3 separate regions of the Homo sapiens genome follow, and all the other regions are linked to region 3. The links are contacts of gene promoters, found by promoter capture Hi-C in human tissues and cell types (Jung and others, 2019). All regions are on one chromosome and are shown on one strand. The core of a region is centred on a gene start or on the middle of the fragment in contact, and the rest is flanking DNA. Distances in the headings are between cores, read along the strand shown. Region 1 overlaps LINC01965 (long intergenic non-protein coding RNA 1965). Region 2 overlaps LINC01965 (long intergenic non-protein coding RNA 1965). Region 3 holds the start of POU3F3 (POU class 3 homeobox 3).

The links. The method cuts DNA at HindIII sites, captures the fragments that hold promoters and counts their contacts. A contact is called where the count stands out against the background at its distance.
Region 1: a contact is called between a fragment that was not itself captured here and the fragment with the promoter of POU3F3 in region 3, in 1 of the 25 tissues and cell types used here (dorsolateral prefrontal cortex).
Region 2: a fragment that was not itself captured here is called in contact with the fragment with the promoter of POU3F3 in region 3 in 2 of the 25 tissues and cell types used here (dorsolateral prefrontal cortex and neural progenitor cells).

The regions. Positions count from the first base shown.
Region 1 is chr2:104,021,160-104,023,859 of GRCh38, reverse strand. All of the region lies in intron 1 of LINC01965 (long intergenic non-protein coding RNA 1965), which reads right to left. Among named protein-coding and RNA genes, the nearest start is that of LINC01965, 150 kb to the right of the region's middle. The HindIII fragment of the contact is 4,134 bases long and covers 1-2,700 here.
Region 2 is chr2:103,970,066-103,972,765 of GRCh38, reverse strand. The region is part of intron 1 of LINC01965 (long intergenic non-protein coding RNA 1965); the gene reads right to left. Among named protein-coding and RNA genes, the nearest start is that of LINC01965, 97 kb to the right of the region's middle. The HindIII fragment of the contact is 6,653 bases long and covers 1-2,700 here.
Region 3 is chr2:104,852,476-104,855,421 of GRCh38, reverse strand. It overlaps POU3F3 (POU class 3 homeobox 3), which reads right to left and starts at 1,307. Exons shown (of 1, transcript NM_006236.3): 1 at 1-1,307. It also overlaps a transcript of PANTR1 not described here. RefSeq lists an enhancer at 1,114-1,703 and a silencer at 2,912-2,946. The HindIII fragment of the contact is 12,067 bases long and covers 1-2,946 here.

The sequences.
Region 1 (2,700 bases), core at 18-2,517, 830 kb after region 3:
TCACGGATCCTGGCACCTCGACACGTGCAATTGAACCAACCCACACACCCGCACCTCCACGTCTTCCTCCAATGTGTGGATTTGAAATGCAAAGTCTAGCTTTTAGTTTGTTTTATTTCAAAAAAAGAAAAGAGAAAACAAGCAAGAAAAAAATCCACATGGATTAAATAATGAATGAATCCCTTTAAGAATCTAATGGAGGACATATACATATGAAAGGAAATGATCACAGTGATAGAGGCAAGTTCAAGTGATAAGGAAAGATTGGTTGGCATAGAAATTGGCTGTTGCTGCTCCAAGGATCCCAAAGTGCACTATTTTTCTGATGTAGTCTTCATGCAAGTGTGATTTTTCAGCATATGGAATGTAGAAGGATAGGGCTCCCCGAACTAAGTCACACAAAATTGATATTCGCCTGTGGGGACTGAAGAACTTTTTGAGAACTACCTGGCATGGAAATTTATGTGAAGATTCTTCACAATGCAAAGGATGATACAGTGGCTCTTGAACTATTTCCTTATTGTGCTCATCTCAAACAGATGTCTTTTTGTTCATTGCATTCCTTGCACAGACATATTGGCTGTAACCTTCTGTTTTAGAGGGACTGTGCAGGATGATTTTCCACATGCTGAGATGCTAAACAAGGGTGTGTGCTCCGTGTTTGATTACTCAGTGCCTCAGTGGCAACAGGCAACTGCAGCAATGCCTTTGATAATATTTCTTAGAGGAATTAGGAAAAGCGAATTTGGTGTACTTTATTTTTGCTATTAAAGAAAGGCATTGAATTATCTTTTATTCTTTTTTTTCCCTTAACATATTAGAGGGAGTTTCCGGTTCTCTATTGCACAATGCCACACAGACACACAGCATATCATTGGGTGATAAATGAGAGCTTGGTGAATATGAAATTACTGATACTGTGTTAACAAAAATCTACCTGTGTGCAAAGTTCTTATGCATCTGTATCTTGTCTTTGTGACCGTGCACAAGTTGCCAAACCTCTTTGAACCTCATAATTCCTAAACTTTGGTAAAATAAAAATTACCGTGTAGCTTTGGGGAGTTCTACATGAGATCTGCTTCTTACATCTGCTGGCATCTAACAGCCCTCCCCTTCAAGTCTTCATGTAAAATTCAGGGGTACGTATTACCCATCCCCTCCCCCGTTCCCAAGGAACACTCTCTCCAGCTTCTTAGCTTTATTTTTCTCTGCAATACTGTCTACCCTTGAACTCCAGGATTTCCCTGTTTGCTTCATTTCTTGTCTGTCTTTCTCTTACTAGAATATGAATTCACCAGAGCAAGGGTTTTTGACTGTTTTGTTTATTACTCCATCCCCATTGCACGCTCTGATCCAAATTATATTACCAGCTCTGTAAATATGGATTAGATGAGTGGATAAATAAATTTTTACATTAATAAATGAATGGAAAGCCTAGATTTATTTAAAATATCTCTTTTCCATCCTGTGGAGTTACGTGGGATTCTCTGCCAATGAATTTATTGAAAATATCTTTTCCTAAACCTTTCAGGGGCCAAATAGAATATTTTCTTCCAAATGTACAAAGTAAAGTCTGTGTTTTTTAAAGCATGTTTCCCAAGGCACATCTGACGTTAAATCTAGCATGGAAGGGAACCCTTTGTCCACTCGAGAAAATGTTTCCCTTATCGAAGTTGGACGGCCAGGTGGAAAAATTGCACTATGCTGTCCACCTAGTCGATGACCCAGCAGTGTGGCATAGTGACCTAGCCTGTTGTAGCCCAAGTCACTAAGCCTAGAAACCACCTTCTAGTCTCTGCCTGTTTTGAACAAGCTGGTGAATCATCAGGACTTCCATTTCCCCATTTAAAAAATACATGCACAGATTTAGTTTCCAGTCTGGCACTAAACTACTCCGAAAATTTTGGCATTTCATGTTGTACCCCATGAGCTAGATAGGGTAAAGGACAGATCAACCACTTTTTTTTTTTTTTTTTTGTCTGTGAGACGGAGTCTCAGTCTGCCGCCCAGGCTGGAGTGCAGTGGCGCGATCTAGGCTCACTGTAAGCTCAGCCTCCCGGGTTCACGCCATTCTCCTGCTTCAGCCTCCCGAGTAGCTGAGACTACAGGCGCCCGCCACCATGCCCTGCTAATTTTTTTGTATTTTTTTTTTAGTAGAGGCGGGGTTTCACCGTGTTAGCCAAGATGGTCTGGATCTCCTGACCTCGTGATCCGCCCGCCTCCGCCTAGAACCACCGCACCCGGCCCAGATCCACCACATCTTATGTCTAATTCCATTCTATGGTAAAACATGACTTCTGGTGCATTAATAGCATTGAAGGCTCACCTTTTGTAACTACCCTGATCACTGGAAGATATGAGAAAAAACAAGTACTAGGAAATAAAACCAAGAGACTGTGGCAGTACCTGGAGCCCGGGATCCCATCCATATTCCCGTATCCTCGATCCCCGCCCCCTTTTTTTTGACGAAGAACATCTACAGATTTGTTAAATCAAGAAAAGAACAAGAAAAAAAAACCCTTATTTTAAATGCATCCCTTAATGCCAACTATTCTTAATGTAGATGAAAGTCCACACTGAAAGGCATATGATTACAATAAAGAGAGGGAAGAAAATCTTTCTTCAGGAGGGAAAGTTATAACTTACACATGTTTAGAATTACCCAGAGAGCTATTTGTCCTCCTAATGCACGCGGAGGGG
Region 2 (2,700 bases), core at 36-2,535, 880 kb after region 3:
AAACCAGGATTTCTTTTGTGTCCTCAAGGGAAAAAAATGTGGGGCATGTAGAATACTACAAAGCTTTAAGGTGCAAAATTTGGCTCCATCTTTTAAAAAATGTTTAATGAGGACCTACTATGCAGAAGACATGGTTCTGAGCATCCTACATGAATCATTTCACTTAATTATGCAACAGTCCTACAATGCAGATGCTATGTGTCCAAGAGTTACAATGGATGTAAGGATTTAAGGCTCAGAGAGGTTATGTAACACATTTTTCTCACCCAGTGACTAAGTGGTGTAACAAACATTCAGATTCAGGCAAGTCGAATTGCATCTGCACTTAACCATTTCAACTAATATTTACGTATTAATTTAGCCAATAAGAGAAACTTAGTATTTATGAATATTATAGACAAATCAAGGTTTCAAAATCCTAAATGTTTGTTGGATATTTGGGGTAAGATACATGGCCTCTTTCTCTTTTGCAGTAAAATGCTGGCTAGTAAATCTAGACTAGAGCAAGGTAAGAACGTTTAAATCCCTTCCTTTGGATTTTTAGCAGCTTTGGTAGAATAGTTCAAATGGCTGACTAAATTAAATTTGGGGAAAAATAGTGGATCAGTTGATTGGCAGACCTGTTTTCCATTGATACAGACAATTAAAAATTTATACAAAAAGATAAAGTTTATAATACTATGTTTCAGTTTCTGTTGTACTAACCACTAGTTGATTTTTCCTGTCTTTTTTTTTTTTTTGCTTTCATTTATAGACCATGGCCAGCAAGTATTCTGCTGTTTTGCTGTAAGTCAACAGCAACTGCAATTAGAAAGATATTACAAGTCTACAAATGGTAGTAGCATCCAAGACAAATCCTAGCCGAGCTGCAGATGGCAGCTTCTCTTCAGAAAGGCATTCTTCCTTTTCCCAATGCAGTAATTGTTGCATTTCCCGAGTGGAAGAACCTGAATTGTGGAAATAATGAAAGTTCCACCATAGTTTGAGCACATAAGAGAGAAAAATGGTTAGTAAAATTTGAAATGGTTTGAAAAATAATTGTCTGCCAAAATATAATTTGTTTCTCAGAATTAAAAAAATAAACTGCATCTATCTTTACCGTTCAAGCTCTTCCTTAGGCCTTTCCTATATCCTTGTTTGGCTTTCTGTATTTTAAATTTGATAGACTGTCCCTGAATGCGTCAAATTCACATAAAGTACAGCCAAAGCCACAAATGATAAAAAAAATCATTCAAAAGCAGGACATAACCCAAAATGAAAACAAGTTATATGAATGAGAGGGTTGCAACCTAAGTGTAATATTTGTTTCATTTGACATTTGATGAGCCAGTTCTTGGTGGGGGCTTAGTTTCATTTCCGTGGCCTCAGTCTGGGACTTTTGGAAAATGTATGTTCCAGGCTGGGCCTGGTGGCTCACACCTGTAATTGCAACACTTTGGGAGGCGGAGGCGGGTGGATCACTTGAGGTCAGGAGTTCAAGACTAGCCTGACCAATATGGTGAAACCCCATCGCTACTAAAAATACAAAAATTAACCAGGTGTGGTGGCATGTGTCTATAGTTTCAGCTTCTCAGGAGGCTGAGACATGAGAATTGCTTGAACCCTGGAGGCGGAGGTTGCAGTGAGCAGAGATCATGCCACTGCACTCCAGCCTGGGCAACAGAGTGAGAATTCGTCTCAAAAAAAAAAGTGTCCCACAAGTGAGTTTGGAACCTTGAGATCATTCTCATTCCATGGAAAGACAATATAATGAAAAGCACGTGGGGTCTACCAGATAAAACATAATAAGCCTTCACTGTGACCGTAGGTCATTTGTGTACAAGAGCATGTCAGCAGGGATCAAATGGAGCAACAGAGAGGTGGGGAGTCTCCATCTTCAGAGACAAATCTGGGCACACATTAAAAATATTTAATTTGTGTTAGGAACCTTTCCACTACTTATTCAGTACCTCAGGTGGTCACTGTCTTTATATTTCCCGCAAGTGTACTGCCCCTCAGGATAGACCGTCATCTAAGCATTAACTACCTATCAAAATCTGCCCAGCATTAAACTTAATAAATAAAAACTATTATAATGTTTGCATTCATAATGATAGCCATAAGAAATATTGACTGAGTTGTTTCTATGGAATATTCATTCTTCTGAAGGCTTCATAGCTATTTGCCTACTTATTTCTTACCATAATTTTATGAGATACATAGTTTTCTTGTACCATTTTATGGATAAGGGATAAAGCCTTCCAAGAAAAATGACAAATGAGAAAGAAAGTAATCAATAAATCAATTCACATAAAACTTTAAATGGCTGGTAACCTTCAGAAAGATATGGAATGAGAAATATCCTTGTTATCTCTGATGATTCCTAATTGACAAATTTTAACTCAATAGAAGAAACAAATTAGAAAAAAATCATGCAGTGGTTAGAGAAAAGGCATTTGAAAAAGTCAACATCCATATATGATAAAAACTTGGAGCAATAAAAAAATGCTAGAGAACCTCTTCAACTCAATAAAGAACATCTAACAAAATTGGCAGCTAATATTATAATTAATCATGAAAAACTGGGCACATTCTTCCAAGATTATGACCAAAGCAATGATGTCCTCTCTCACCACTTCTATTCAACAGTGTACTGGAAGTCCTAGTTGGCTTAATAAGATAGGAAATGAAATAAAACACATACAGATTGTGAAGGAAAAA
Region 3 (2,946 bases), core at 58-2,557:
CGCCCCCCGCCTCCCGCCTCCTCCCCCCCTCCTTCCCCGCCCCCGCCCCGGGCCCCCGCCGGCCCCGCCGCCTTCGCCGCCTCCTCCTCCGCCGCCGCCTCCGCCCCCGCCGCCGCCGCCGCCGCCGCGGCCCCCGGCTGCAGCTGCAAGGCCGCTCGGCAGGGCGCGGGGGTCGCCGGCCGGCCTTGGTCACCAGCAGCAGCAGCAGCCGCAGGAGCAGCGCTCTGGGGAGGGGGGCTCGCTTCTCGGGGTGCGCTCCGTGGCCACCCCCTTCAGGGGGGGTCGTGGCCGCCCCCCAGCCCCGGCGCGCTGGGCTCGCTCCAGCGGGGCTCGCCGGGCGGGGCGGGGACCTGCACTCGGGGCGCTCTCCCGGGACGCGCGGGCTCCCGCTCCTCCTCCTGTCCTCGGGCGAGCCCGGACTCTGCCCGGTCGCGGGGCTCCGTCCACCTGCTAAGTGAAGGTTTCACGGGAGATAACAAAGAAAGAAGCTGCTCCTTTCTTCCTTAGCCAAATTACGGATGACCAGCAACCGGCCCGCTCCTTCTCTTGTCCGCTCTCTCCTCTCCTCTCCTCTCCTCCTCAGGAACACATTTCACTCGTTTTCCCTTAGAGTAGTAAAACTTTTTCGTCCTTGAAGGCGTGGTGCTGCTGGCTGCTCGCGAGTGCGGAGAGGGGAGGCTGGCTCCTGCTCTCCCCCTCTGGTCCTCTCGTTTCAAGTTTTGTTCTGTCCTAGGAAAACTTCTTGCGATGGTGCATTTCTCTGAAGTTGCTATTGCCGGAGCTCTTGGTTGCCTCTGAAACAAGAGTCCTTTTTCATTCTCCTCGCAACAGTCACAGTCTGATGCGACATCTTTCCTTTTGGGCAGAAATTAGGAAACAAATATAACAAGGAAAAAATTGAACAGGAAAAAAAATGATGTCGAATCGCTCTGTTACCTTGTTGCTGACGGTTGGGGTTGGTGTTTTATTTTTTTCCCAGCAGTTGTCTGGAGAAGGAGGAGGAAGAAGAGTGCATTGGTGGAGGTGGAGGTGTGTGTGTGCATATAGGGGATCGATCCTTGATACACAACAACTCCAGTGGGCACGCTGCACGGCTCGTAGAGTGCACCGACGGCGGGCGCTGGCGCTGGCCGTGCTGGAGCAGAGTTGCAGCAGGAGCTCGCTCTGCGCCCTCGTTCGCGCTCTCTTTCCCTCTCTCACTTTTCCTCTCCCTCCCTCTCTCTCTCTCCCTCTCTCGGGCGCCCGCTCTCGCTCCGATCTGACAGTTCGCTCTCTGTCCCTCCCTCTCAGAGCGGGGACTGTCGAATGTTTACCCTCCGCCGCGAGCGCGCACCCACCACCACACTTTCCCAAATACAAGGAAGTCGAGCACCAGGGCCCCCGCTGATTGGCTACCCGCTGGGTGATTGGCAGGCTCGGAATGACTGGCTCAGGACGCGAGGCCCCCCTTCCGGCCGTTCCGATTGGTTGCTTTTTAATTTAGGCAGAGCGTCGTAGAAGCTGGAAATCTGTCGTCCTCCAGCCTCCCTCCCCCTCACCACTTTCCCCTCCCCGCCCCTCCCCCGCCGCCCCCTCCGCCACATCTTAACTCTTAGTGTCCGGCCCAGACGTTGGCGTTCCCTCGGCGGCTCTGGGCGTTCGCAATAGGTCTGGGCGGGGGGAAGAAAGGGGAGATAAAAGGGAGGGAGGGACGAGAGGGGGGAAGAGAATCAGAAGGAAAACGAAGGGGGAAACATGAAAAATAGCAACCTGCCCACCCCACCTAGTACGCGTCGGGTTGCTCACCCCCTTACCCCCGCCCCGCCAGAGATTTGTAAAGCGCGCGGCACGGATGTACCATTCAAGCTAATACCTATAGACAGATGTGTCCCCAGTGGTTTCAAAGTTTCCTCTTCCCTTCACCAGCCGGCCCCCTTCTCTGATCGGCGGGGGTGGGAAGCGGGGGCTCGCATCGCCAAGAGCTCTGGTCGTGGCCACGCTCCTTGGAAATCCGCCACCGCAACTTTCCGCAGCCGTTGCGCGCCGGCGGCAGCCCCCTTTGTTTAAGTTCTCGGATGCCATCATCTGGGAAACCTGCAGCCCAGGACCAGCGCGGTGCCCGCGCGTGCGAGACGGACCGCTCGCTGCCGCCGCTCCCTGGCTCCTCCACCCCCTCTCTCCCTCCTTCGCTCTCCCTCCCTTCCTCCCTCCTCCCTCCTCTGGGATTCGTGCAAGTAGCGTGCGTGCCCTTGTGAGTTTGGAGGGTGCCGGTCAGCGGAGCCGTGCGATGTATTTGAAAAGCAATCAGTCCGACCTTCCCCCATAGATTCATCGTAAGTGTATTCGACCCCAATGGCTTTAGGAATTCCCTGTGGCAGCAGGAGCCGGGCGAAAGAACCGGGATCGGCTAGCCGCGCCCTTCTCTGCTCCACCGCTTCCTCGTGTGTGTGTGTGTGTGTGTGTGTGTGTGTGTGTGTGATTAGCGGTGGGGGGGTTTGCTCGCTCTCTATTCTTAGGCATGGTGGTGCTTTTTTTTCTTTCCTTTCTGTCTCAGATGGATTTGCGTGGTGGATGGGGCTGGCGGCGACAAATGCTTTCTCAGCTCTAACCCAGCTGAAAGAGTTAAGGGGGATGGGAGGGGGAGTGCACCCGGTAGGCGAGAGAAGCGGGGGTGGGGTGGGGTGGGGTGGGGGGACGCGGCCAAGCGGAAACGCTGCACAGAGGAACCTCAGCGAACCAAGAAAAAAGAGAAAGTGGCAACGAAAACAAGGGCAAATTGAGCCCTCCTCGGGGATTTCCAATGAACTAACCCAACTCGGACATTCAATAAATACATGGCTCTTAATGAGCGTGCGTGTGCGTGCACCCCGCACCCCTAGCTGCGGGTGCGCCCGCTTGCGCCCGCCGCCCCCAGCCAGAGCCTGCATCTGGCAGTCCCGAGCCCGAGCGGCAGCCCAGGACGCAGCC